Linked DNA regions of Homo sapiens: all the other regions are linked to region 2. The links are contacts of gene promoters, found by promoter capture Hi-C in human tissues and cell types (Jung and others, 2019). All regions are on one chromosome and are shown on one strand. Each heading gives the region's core, a stretch centred on a gene start or on the middle of the fragment in contact. The rest is flanking DNA. Distances are from core to core; before and after follow the strand shown. Region 1 overlaps CEP85 (centrosomal protein 85). Region 2 holds the start of FAM110D (family with sequence similarity 110 member D). Region 3 overlaps UBXN11 (UBX domain protein 11).

What was found. The method cuts DNA at HindIII sites, captures the fragments that hold promoters and counts their contacts. A contact is called where the count stands out against the background at its distance.
Region 1: a contact is called between a fragment that was not itself captured here and the fragment with the promoter of FAM110D in region 2, in 5 of the 25 tissues and cell types used here (IMR-90 fibroblasts, dorsolateral prefrontal cortex, lymphoblastoid cells and 2 more).
Region 3: a fragment that was not itself captured here is called in contact with the fragment with the promoter of FAM110D in region 2 in 2 of the 25 tissues and cell types used here (adrenal gland and thymus).

The regions. Positions count from the first base shown.
Region 1 is chr1:26,252,536-26,256,832 of GRCh38, reverse strand. CEP85 (centrosomal protein 85) reads right to left here. Exons shown (of 14, transcript NM_001319944.2): 4 at 968-1,662. Among named protein-coding and RNA genes, the nearest start is that of CEP85, 20 kb to the right of the region's middle. The HindIII fragment of the contact is 5,989 bases long and covers 1-4,297 here.
Region 2 is chr1:26,157,730-26,161,516 of GRCh38, reverse strand. It overlaps FAM110D (family with sequence similarity 110 member D), which reads right to left and starts at 2,438. Exons shown (of 2, transcript NM_024869.3): 1 at 2,391-2,438; 2 at 1-305. The coding sequence starts at 225. The HindIII fragment of the contact is 16,538 bases long and covers 1-3,787 here.
Region 3 is chr1:26,280,896-26,285,170 of GRCh38, reverse strand. It overlaps UBXN11 (UBX domain protein 11), which reads left to right. Exons shown (of 15, transcript NM_001389556.1): 11 at 689-809; 12 at 926-1,029; 13 at 2,234-2,307; 14 at 2,382-2,522; 15 at 2,602-2,889. The coding sequence ends at 2,872. SH3BGRL3 (SH3 domain binding glutamate rich protein like 3) reads right to left here. Exons shown (of 3, transcript NM_031286.4): 2 at 4,239-4,275; 3 at 3,649-4,113. The coding sequence ends at 4,048. Among named protein-coding and RNA genes, the nearest start is that of SH3BGRL3, 2.9 kb to the right of the region's middle. RefSeq lists enhancers at 489-578, 704-1,294, 3,790-4,275. The HindIII fragment of the contact is 4,676 bases long and covers 1-3,651 here.

The sequences.
Region 1 (4,297 bases), core at 1,512-4,011, 95 kb before region 2:
AAGGTCAGGAGTTCGAGACTAGGCGGGCCAGCATGGTGAAACCCTGTTTCTACTAATAATACAAAAAAGAGCTGGGCGTGTTGGCACGCACCTGTAGTCCCAGCTACTCGGGAGGTTAAGGCAGGAGAATCACTTGACCTTGGGAGGTAGAGGTTGCAGTGAGCCGAGAACACGCCACTGCACTCCAGCCTGGGCAACAGAGCAAGACTCCATCTCAAAAAAAAAAAAAAAAGAAAATACAAAAGTGGTAGAGAGAACACAGGGGCTCAAAGAAGGTTTTCACATTTATTTATTTATTTTTTGAGACAGAGCCTCGCTCTGTCATCCAGACTGGAGTGCAATGGCGCAGTCTCGGCTCACTGCAACCTCCGCCTCCCAGGTTCAAGCAATTCTCCTGCCACAGCCTCCTGAGTAGTTGGGACTACAGGCGCATGCCACCACACCTGGCTAATTTTTATATTTTTAGTAGAGGCAGGGTTTCACTCTGCTGGCCAGGCTGGTCTCGAACTCCTGCCCGCCTCGGCCTCCCAAAATGCTGGGATTATAGGCGTGAGCCACCTGGCCTCAAAGATGGTTTTTAAACCCCAGCTCTGCCAATTACCAACTCTATGACCCCGTACAGATTATGTAGTCTAAGAACCTGGTAAGTTTCTACATCTACCTCGTTAGTACACTATGAAGATTAAATAAAATGCTGTATGTGAAAGTACTTAGCCTAGTGACGTATAAATACGTTTTTAGGTTTTCCTTTGTAACCTTTTGCTATTTTGGAGACCCTATCTGGTGCTTAATTTGACTACCAAACAGATTCAATGGCCAACAGCTCACAAGCCTGTATTTCCTGTCTACAAACATCTTCCTTCTTTTTACAGCTATTTTCTTTAAGCCAAAATTCAAAGGACAAAAGCTATTACAATTCTAAGAACTGTACAGAACCTAGAAAATCCAAGGAAAGATAGACCTCTACCTGCATTTGCTCCATCTGTAAACGAATCAATTCCAGCTGCTGCCGACAAGTGCTGAGTTCACAAGATTGCTCTCGGGGATGCCAAGTGTCAGGACTCGGCTGCCACACCTGAGAGGGCAGAGGCTTGGAGAGCCCGGGAGCAGGCTGGAGTCCCAAAGGGAGGACCCCACTGCTATTAGAATGTGGTCCATTCCGCTCAAACACTGCCCCGCTGCCCGGTGCCTTCTTGGCCTCAGGCAACACTCTGTACAACTCCTTACTTGTGCTGGTTCTTGGGTTGTGGAAGCGGACTCGGTGGTGAGGATCTGAATAAAGTGTCTCCATCATTGCCGACTGATTGAGGGTAGATTCCATGCTAGGAATATCAAACTTCCTCGCCTCTTCTTGTCTTTCATGGCCCACTGCTGGAAACCAGGACTGCTCAATTCCATTTTCTCCAGTAGCACCAGAGAAATACATGAGATCTCTAGATAGGCCTGGAGAATGTTTCATTGCACCGAGGTCTCCATTTCTTGTCATTCCCACACTTTCAGCCAACCCTGACAAAGGGAGTTTAGAGGAAGAGGGTCCAACAGGTGTAGAATTTGGCTTGGCAGGAGAGGTCCCTAAAGTAGAAGGCATCACATGGGCTGTTGGAATGGTTACGTGGCTTTTGATGGGCTGGAAAGGAGGACTGCCACTTGAGCTGCAAAAATCTGGGGAGAGAATAGTCTTCCATAAGTAAAAATTGAAGTAGCAAGCTTTCTTGAGTTTGAATGCTATGCCAGAAGCTCTCGGCCTGTCCTGAGACCAAGCAGAGAGAGCACCATCATCAAAAGTATCAGGCAGAAAGAAACGGCAACCAAACTGGGAGATGTATGTTCCAGGATCTCAAATGCCATTCACAAGGTAAACTAACAAAAGGCAATAATGACTTCACTTTTAACTTAGTCCTTTGTACTGGAATAAAAAAAATCTTGTCAGTCAACAGACAAAGCTGAAAAACTTTTAAAAAGTTTTTTAAAAAATTTAAACTTTAAAACAAATTACTTACTTAAGGAAAATGAGTTAGGTCCTACTCTTCTGGAAGCTGGACAACTCTCAGCTATAATCAAATCTAATAAAAATATCCTTTCCAAGAGTCACCAGAATCTTCTGCGACCTCCAAAAGCTCCCCCAGGAAGGTGAGCAACGAGTCCAAACTATCTGAAGAATGAAGCGAACTAGACAGTCTTGCTCAGTATGCAGGACAGGGAGTATGGCATCTGAGGCAGGATTCTGTTCTCTCTCCCATACCCCAAACCTGACTGCCTGGATATGTGAAGTTATTCTTAGTAACTCTCAGGTTTCACTCTAGCACAGTGAGCACTCTCAATTGGGTACACACTGAAATCCTCTATTTTATATTTTGCCTTTCACTTGCCCCCTTGTGTGTACCCAACTGTGTTTTTTTTTTTTTAACTTTTCCTTCAGACTGAATTTGTGTTTCCTTTGGCTCCTGCCTGGTCTTGGGAGACAACCCTTGATTAGCCCTACTATACAAGGTTCACATTTCTACCTATTTCCAACTTTCAAGTACTACTCTGAGGGGGACTACTGCAAGCAAACAATAAGGGAGGAATGTGAGGTAACATACTTATTGCTTTCAGCAGGCAGAAAACTGAATAAGGAAATAAGGAATACCAATTTCTTCTCTTTTCAACTATATTCAGTACTCGTTCCCAAATCAAGCATATCTACCACGGAGAAGAGCGACTACCAACTTGTTTCTTTTTCTCCCCAGCAACCAACACAGAGAACACTCAGATAACAACAACAAATACTATAATTGTTCCCAGAATTATGTAAGTATAGATCAGCTACGACCTTCTCATTAAACAACTTTTTTTTTTGAAATGGGGTCTCACTCTGTCACCCAGGCTGGAGCACAGTGGCGTGATCACAGTTCACTGCAGCCTCGACCTCCCCAGGCTCAGGTGATCTTCCCACCTCAGTTTTTGTATTTTTAGGAGAGATGGGGTTTCGCCATGTTGCCCAGACTGGTCTCGAACTCATGGGCTCAAGTGATCCACCTGCCTCAGCCTCCCAAAGTGCTAGGATTACAGGTGTGAGCCACCATGCCCGGCCTTAAGCAACTCTTTAAAAATATGGGCAAGCCACCTCACACCTGTCAGAATGGCTATGATGAAAAAGATGAGGCCGGGCGCAGTGGCTCATGCCTGTAATCCCCAGCACTTTGGGAGGCTGAGGAGGGGGGATCATGAGGTCAGGAGATCGAAACCATCCTGGCTAACACGGTGAAACCCTGTCTCTACTAAAAATACAAAATATTAGCCAGGTATGGTGGCACGCGCCTGTAGTCCCAGCTATTCGGGAGGCTGAGGCAGGAGGATCGCTTGAACCCAGGAGGTGGAGGTTGCAATGAGCCAGGATCGCACTACTGCACTCCAGCCTGGGCGACAGAGTGAGACTCCATCTCAAAAAAAAAAAAAAAAAGATGAAAGATAACAAGTTTGGAGAGGATGCAGAGAAAAGGGAACTCTAGTACACAGTTGGGGGGAATGTAACACAGCCACTGTGGAAAACAATGGAGTATGTAGCTCCTCAAAAAACTAAAAATAGTTACCATATGATCCAGCAATCCACTTCTGGGTATATATCCAAACGATATGAAATATGTATGTCCAAGAGATATCTACAATCCCATGTTTACTGAGTAATTATTCACAATAGCCAAGTTATAGAATCAACAGACGAACAGATAAGGAAAATGCAGTATATTACACAACGGAATACCAGCCTTATAAAAGATGTCAATTGTGTCACTTGCAACAACATGGATGAAACTGGAGGACACTAAGAGAAATAAGCCAGGCACAAAATGACAAATACTGCACGTTCTTACTTATATGTGGAAGCTAAAAAAAACCTCGACACATAGAAACAGAGAGAATAATTGTGGTTACCAGAAGCTGGGAGCAGGGGGAATCGAGAGATGCTGATCAAAGGGTAAAACATTTCGGTTAGACAGGAGGAATAAATACTTTAAAAAAAGACGTGCAAGCCTTATATTACATGCATAGTATCTAATTTGCTATACTGAAGATGATCTTGGGGATATATAAAAGGCCACACTAAAAAAACACACACACACGTAACAAAACAAAAACCTGAATAAGTTCTGATAACATGCATTAGTCTCTCAGGACCAAGAAAGAAATTTCTCAGTTAAAGGACCCAGTTTCTGATGTCTCACAACTTAAATATAGGACTAGTACACAAGGTTAAGGCAGACTGCTAGTGATAAAGACTTCAAAGACTAGTAAGCAATACAATTTTTTGTTTTATTTT
Region 2 (3,787 bases), core at 1,189-3,688:
GCCGCTTCCCCGGCGGACCGGCCTGGGCGTCCTGGGCGATGCAGGGGGCCCCAGCTCGTTGCAGGGGTGCGGCGTGAGCGGCCCAGGACTCCCACGCAGGGCTGGCTCCTGTCGCCTAGCTATCACCTGGTGCGTCTTGACATACTTGGCTTTGTCGGCTTCCAGCCTCTCCACGGCGCTGGGGGTCCGTCCTCTGGACGGGGTGGAGGGAGGGGCCAGGAGCATCTTAGCAGAGCTGGTCAGGACAGTGCCCCATAAGTAGCCAGCCACGGGGCCTAGAGCAATTGGCTTGGGCTCTCACTGACCTGCAGGGAGAGAGGAAGGTCAGGGGAAGGGTAGGAAATGCCCCTGGTCCTCTCCTGCCGGCATTCCTCAGTATAGGATCAGTCAGCCACCCTCTCCCATCCAGGTTAGCCGGTGCCACATCCAGGGAGCAGAGGCTCAGGCCATCCCCTTTCCCTGTCCTTCAGAGACATTGAGTGGGGTCTCTCTGGCCACTCAGAAACATATTCCCCTTTGAAGGTGCCCCAATCTGGCCACAGGGTCGTGCAAGCAGGCCTTAGCAAGCAGGACACTTGGAAAAGGAAACAGGGCTGGTCCCGGCCCAATTCCTGAAAGTGGCTTCAACCGGAAAAAATACCTCTTCCCAACCCAGCAGCTTTGAGCCCAAGACAAGAAGGCTCCCAGCCACAGGCTGGCTCCAGCAGGGCCCACCCTTCCCGCCCCCAAACACCGAGGTCGGGGATATAACCACAGGGTAGGAGCCTCCAGTAATTGCAGCCAACTGCCCTGCCCAGGCCCAGCAGGGCCATCGGGGCAGGAGAGGGAGGTGGTCCCCAGGCCCTATCAGCTACTGCCAGCTACTCTGCCCCTGCCAAGGGGATCGCAGAATGCCAAACTGTAAACATCACCTTGTTTAACCTTTGCATTTCCATTTCATGAAGAGGAAACTGGCTTGGAGAGGAGGGGGGCTTGCTCAGGTCCTATTGAGAGTTAGGAGCCAGGACTGGAACCCAGGTTTCTTTTTTTTTTTTCTTTAGACGGAGTCTTGCTTTGTCACCCAGGTTTCTTGCCTTGCAGTTCAGATTGGATCTCTCACTTGCCTATCAGAACTTCCCACTGAGGCCAGGCGCGATGGCTCATGCCTGTAATCCCAGCACTTTGGGAGGCCGAGGTGGGTGAATTACCTTAGGTGAGGAGTTCCAGACCAGCCTGGCCAACATGGCAAAACCCCATCTCTACTGAAAATACAAAAATTAGCCAGGCGGGGTGGCGCACACCTGTAATCCCAGCTACTTGGGAAGCTGAGGCAGGAGAATCGCTTGAAGCTGGGAGGCGGAGGTTGCAGTGAGCCGAGATCGCGCACCACTGCACTCCAGCCTGGGCAACAGAGCGAGACTCCGTCTCAAAAAAAAAAAAAGAAAAAAAAAAAGAACTCACTGATATTTTGCGTGTATTCCCGCTGCTATAAAACCAAGCAATTTCCGTTAGAAATGGGCCCCTTGCCTCACTAAAAAGTTCCTTCCACTAATTCTTCCTAATAACCTGCGCTCCCACTCCCAGAAATTTGCCCCCAGGGTCCTTGTCCCTTTTTTATCCTAAGACCTCATGACCCTTTTCCACCTCCCTTCTGCTGGGGCAAGGAGCGAGGAGGGGTTGTAAATCAAGAGCTGACAGTTCTCTTGGCAGTAACAGAATGGGCCACCCACATGGCCCTGCACACCCGACCCCACCCCTATCTTCCCCTACTCCCCCTGAGTCCTGGAGGCTGAGGGACCTTGGATCTGGGGACAACAAAGGAACAGAATTAGCCAGGGAAGTGGGGAAGGAGTCTGTGAGAGGCCTTGGGGCAGAGACCCTGCCAGGTCCAGCCCACCCCTGCACCCAGCATCTAGTGTGTAGTCAGTCTGCTCATAGGTAGTTGAGGCCTGGGAACCAAGGAGAGTCTGGCAGTGTCCCCCTCCCTGTCTCCCAGGGAGTCTCCTTGGCAGTGGGTCAGATTCCAAGGTCCCAGGAAGGCACTGCTTGTCTGACCCCATGGGTGCCCTCTGTCCTCTCCTCTTCTCCCCAGCCCTGAGCAGGGAGACTATAAAAAGTTCCTAATCACAAGGACCAAAATAGTCTGTCATCCACAGCCTCTTCCCTGCCTTCTGGGCTAGCCTGGAGGCCGGACCTCAGACATCCCGCCCTAGAAGCCTGGCAGGCAGCCTCGGGCCCTCCATTCCTTTGCCTGCCTTCTCCCAGTCCTGAAACTTGTGGTCTCAACTCTGCCCAAGGCTTCTGCTCTGGGCATGGGCCATCTTTTAGGCTCACTAGTTTGGCACCAGTCTCCCTGCCCTCAGGCCCCTGGGTTCCTTCTTACCCCAGCCCTGGGCTCAGGGTACACTCACCTCTGCATGGGAGGCCTAATTGCAGGGGTCCTTGGGCAGGTCCAGACTGAGGGCAGGAGTGGACAGCAAGGACTAGAAGTAACTTTGGTGGCAGCCAAACCTCACTCTCCACAGGAAAAGCAGAGAAAGCCTCCACCCCCCGCCCCCCAAATTAACCCTCGCCTTCCTGAGGCAGATCCTGGCCTCCATTAACTCTTTCCTGATCACAGTCCTGCGCTGTGGAGACCTGTGAACCAAGTCCAGCTCCTTTTATTTTACAGATGGTCAAACAGTCCCAGCCCGGTTAGGTGATTGGCTGTGGAAGCACTGTGAGCTTGGGCAGAGCCAGGACTCCAAACAAGGCCTCCTGATCCCCAGGCTTCCTCCAAAGGCCTGGGGTGGGGGCTCCGTATGTGGGATCAGCCCCCTCCCTGGGCTGTGGCAGATGCTCTGACAGTCTGAATGGGAAGGCAGAACAGGGTTCTAGTCAACTTGCTTTTTTCCCTCTGTAGCAGGCTGAGACCTGTCTTGGTCTGGGTGCTGGGTGGTGTCAAGCCTGCTTTCCCTGGGGGCGAGACCAGGAATCTGCAGCCTAAGGGTGGGGGCATTGGTGCTATAGATGTGCAGGTGAGCCTGTGGCGGCAAGTCTTGTCATGAAGGTGACCCTGGAGCCCACTGGAGCTGCCTCTGCCAAGGTCCTTTCATGGCAGATGGGATTGCCTGGGAAGACAGTGATGAGGGGCTGATTCCAGGGCCAAGCCCAGGTCCTTTGGCCCGCTTCCTTCTCTGCCCACACTTGGAGCCTCTTAGAGCTTCTTCCATCAGAGTTTCTTCTCTGACACCTTATGTCTCAAGGTGAAACCCTACCTCATAGGAGACACCTCCCCTCTCCCCAGCAGGCAAACTAAACTCTCCAGCCCAGACTAAGACCAGTGCTCAGGCCAAAGGTTCCTTTCCCCCCTTGGCTGGCCACCTTCCCCAAGTCCCTCCTCCTCCTTTCTAGCCCTCTTTCATGTTTGCAAAGCACATTCCCGTCTGTGCTCTCTGATCTCCTTTGACCGCCCCCAAACAAGGACCCTAGACAGGCGTCCAGCAGGAATGACCCCCCACTTAATGAGTAAGGAAACAGGAGCTGAGGGGGGAGAGAGATGCCCAAAGCCCAGCTCCAAATCCACATTTGGAACTGCATCCTCTGCCTGTCAAGTCAGTAGTGGGTCTGAAAACCCAAGGCCCATCTCCCGGTAAAAGGTTTTTATTACCTAAAGGGGGGATTTTGTTGGTGATAGTTCCATATTTTGTTGCTACAGCACTTTTCAAAATGCCATTAGCTGCTTTGTCATAATCCCCATGACAATCTTTGGGGGAGGTTTTATTATTTTTCACACTTACGGCTGAAGAGACTGAGGCTCAGAGAGGAG
Region 3 (4,275 bases), core at 64-2,563, 120 kb before region 2:
GCAGAAGTGGCCCGGCTGTCCCCCAAGTCTCCTGAAGCTATCTGGGTAGGGTGGGAGGCAGTGCTGTGAGCCACAAATGCAAAGCAGAGGGGACAGATGTTGGGACTCAAAGACATGAGGTAGAGCTGGCCCCATGGGTAGGTGCCACCACCAGAGCCCATGAGGCTTCGTGTTCTAGAAGGTGGTGGGTTAGTGCCGCACTGAGGGCGTGTCCGGGAGGGAGCATGTGTCACCAGGGCTCAGGAAACAGCATGAGTCATGACGCGGGGGTGTTTAAGGCATTCGTGCCACAGCGGGGACCTCGGAGCTATGCCTTGATAAGGCAAGTGAGGTTACATGTACGATGATGCGGTTTGTGCTGCAGACTGGAAAAAAGCAGGGGCTTTGTCCTCTCCTGACCCCCTCACACTCTGCCTTCACGGTAGGCTCCTGAGAGGGGGGTCTCCAAGGAGGGTGTCAGTACTGCAGCTTCAGCTGGCGTGGATGGGGTGCTTACAGGAGCAGCAGGGCTGAGGGAGATGACAGCAGTACGAACCGTGGCTCTCCTGAGGCCTGGGTTTCCTCATATGTAAAATGGGGGTTGCATTAGACCATACCCTTGGCCTGTGTTTAGGCAAATAGGGATGAAAGTGGGGCCAAGGGCTGAAGAGCTGGGTCCGCTGCCGTCGTTGCCCTTCTTTCTTGCCAGGTGAGTGACTTGCGCAATCAGGTCTACCTGGAGGATGGACTGGACCCCTTCCCAGGCGAGGGCCGTGTGGTGGGCAGGCAGCTGATGCACAAGGCCTTGGACAGGGTGGAGGAGCACCCAGGTGAGTTTGGCCTCCAGGCTGAGCCAGGGGGCTGGGGGACTGCAGAACAAACTCCAGGGGGGCTCCACCACCACTCATAGTCCTTCCTGGGCCCCGGTTCCCAACTCTGCCTGTAGGCTCCAGGATGACTGCTGAGAAATTTCTGAACAGGCTCCCCAAGTTTGTGATCCGGCAAGGCGAGGTGATTGACATCCGGGGCCCCATCAGGGACACCTTGCAGGTGAGGCCAATGCTAACTCCCCCAGCCCTCCTGGGGGAACTTTAGCACCAGCCCTGGTCCAGCCTGCCAGAACAGTGTCTTGTCAGAAGGCTCAAGCTTGAGGCACCTGATGAGTCCCTCAGAGCTGTTGCTCCACTGTCTCCTGGAAACTGTGAGGCTGGTGAGGGCACGGGCTGGGCCCCGGAAAGCAGGTGGGTTAGCTGTAAGAGGGCTAAAGTCAGAGTCCAGGCCAGGGGTGAGCCCAAGGCCCAGGCCACCCCATCAAGGTCTAGGCCAAAATATCCAACTCAGTACTGGGTACTCCCTTCGTGGTTGCCTCAGACTCTCCTTGGCCCTCATCATTCTGTCTCCTCGCTCCCTATTCTGCTTCTCCTCCTAGGTGTCCACCTGTGAAAGGCACCAAACCTTAGTTTCTCAGGCCTCCTCTGCCTCCCTCACCCACACATTGCTAAGTCCTGTCTGGTCTGTCCACCCCCAGAACTTCTCCCAGATGCATCCCTTCTCCACATTCCCACCACCCACCACCCTAGTCTAGGGTTCAGAGTGTCTCTCCCAGACAGCTGCCTCCCACTGCCACTCCTGCCCCTGCTGACCATCCTCCAGGCTGCCTTCCCTGTTGAAATGTTCCAGTGGTTCTTGAGATAAAGCCAGGTTCCTTATGCTGGCACTCAAGGCCCGTCCTATATTGCCAGGCCCCTCCTCACACCAACCTTTTCCTTCCAGTCCAATTGAGCCCCAGCTTCAGCCACACATAATGCTGGCAGTTGCCCAAATGTGTCGCCACCTCTAGGAAGCTTTCCCTGAACCCAGGATCTTTGTTGATGCTGTCTGGAATATCCCTGCATCCATTCCATTTCTAAGGACTCCCATTCATCCTTCAGTCACAGCTCAGTTGTCATTTTCCGAGGGAAGCCTTCCCTGACCCCAGGCTGGGGTGGGCTTCCAGCCTGATCATCGTCTGTGTGGGGTTCTGTCTCCATTAGACTGAAACGGGGGGTTACCTGGGGGGAACCATGGGGCTGCCTCCCAGAACCTTCTTCCCCTTCCATTGCCTCTCCTCTGGCCTTGGTTTATACAGAACACCCCCTCCCGCTTTGCTCACTGGTCTCATCTGTCCCTGGTCAAGGAAGTGTCCCTCTAAGGTTTGTGGGGATGACTCAAATGGGGCCTAGGGCTCTGTCCACCCTCCACTGATACCTTCCAGAACTGCTGCCCATTGCCTGCCCGGATCCAGGAGATTGTGGTGGAGACGCCCACCTTGGCCGCTGAGCGAGAGAGGTGAGGGCGGGATGAGGAGGTGAGGGCCTGGGGGCGTTGGGTCACCGCGTGCTGATGGCCTCTGGGCTGTGCAGGAGCCAGGAGTCACCCAACACGCCGGCACCCCCGCTCTCCATGCTGCGCATCAAGTCTGAGAATGGGGAACAGGCCTTCCTACTGATGATGCAGCCTGACAACACCATTGGGGACGTGCGAGCTCTGCTAGCGCAGGCCAGGTGGGTGCAGGGCAGGGCCAGGGCCACAGAGGGGCTCTGGTCCCACTGCCCAGCCTGATCTGCTCTGCCTGGTCCCCAGGGTCATGGATGCCTCTGCCTTTGAGATCTTCAGCACATTCCCGCCCACCCTCTACCAGGACGATACACTCACGCTGCAGGCTGCAGGCCTTGTGCCCAAAGCAGCACTGCTGCTGCGGGCACGCCGAGCCCCGAAGTCCAGCCTGAAATTCAGTCCTGGTCCCTGTCCCGGTCCCGGTCCCGGCCCCAGTCCCGGTCCCGGTCCCGGCCCCAGTCCCGGTCCCGGTCCCGGCCCCAGTCCCTGTCCTGGACCCAGTCCCAGCCCCCAATAAAGCACCCGCCCCCTCAACCCGCTGCTCCGCCAGGCTCTTGGGTGGGCCATCTCGCCAGGCACGTAGGAAAGGCCTGGGACCAGCTGGGCCAGGGAGGGGGCGGTGCCGACCCGCCCCTTGGTAACTCGAGCCCCGGCTGGCGGGCCTGGCTGCTGGGTCTTTGTCTTCTAGGTTCCTCTTTCTCCCAAGAAGGGCTAAGTGGATCCTGTGAAGGGAGGGATGCAGTGGGGGGAAGGAGCTGGCCCCAGCTGGGTTTACATTCTCAGCTGGGACAGCAGAGCCTCACTGTGTATGTGTGCAGCCAGCAGATACCTGTGCACAGGCACAGACCCACCAACTCGTGGGGACACTTCAACACCGCACAAAGCCATTTTGCCACTAGACCCATGCCCCCAAATTAGCAGAACTGCAGCTGGGTACCCACCTCCCATGATACACTCATTCTTAGCCATTGTGCTCCAACACAGGCGCATGGGATGGCCACACTCACTGACAGGCATGGAGATGTGCACTACACACCAAGGCACAAGCATGATATGGACACATGCATGTGAACTGGAGGGTGGCCCACCCAGACATCTCCAGAAACCACTGGTCCATACAGGTATTTGTGTGTCAGACATATCCAAACACATGCACTAACAAACACAGAGGTGACAGTCACAAGAGAACAGCTCAGCCACCCTTCCCACAGAGCAGTCTCAGCACAGTCACAACTACCAACCTTGCCCAGGGCAGGGACCCAGGAGGCCCAGGCCACAACCAACCAGACACAGTGCCAATGGAACAGGACATCATTTAATTGCCTCTAGGGTCCTCCTGGGAGAGGGACTGCGGGGCCTTTGGCAGAGCTCTGGCTGATGGAACCAACAGAGGTGCCCATCAGCCAGTGCCAGGCAGGATGGCGGCCCCAATGCTTGGCTGGGGGCAGCCAGCATTTGGGGCTGTTGCTTAAGACAATTTCTGAGACTAATGGGTAAGGAATGTTGCCTTTAGATGGAGGAGAGGGGACTACATTTAGAGAGGAGGGAGGAGAAGTGGCCTGCATTGGGGGAGGGACTCTAAGGTTAGGTTAGGAATGACAGGGAGTTGGTCAAAAGGTCCTTCATGGCCAGGTGAAGGCTGGGGGGAGTGTGGTGATGGAGTCCAGCAGGGGAACTCTGGACAGGCTTGACTCAAGCCAGCTTCAGGAACTCCTGCAGCGTGTTTTGTTCCACAGCCTCCACGAAGAGCTCATAGTCCTGGAGAAGGGGAGGCGAGGGGTGGTCACCTGAATGCAGGGGGCCCAAGTGCTTTGTGGCAGATATGACCCTGGCTAGAGTCCTCTTCCAACACTCCCCCCACCCCCCCGTCCCCCAGCCCATACCCCACAGTACTGGTCCCCGTTGACAATCTGGGGTGGG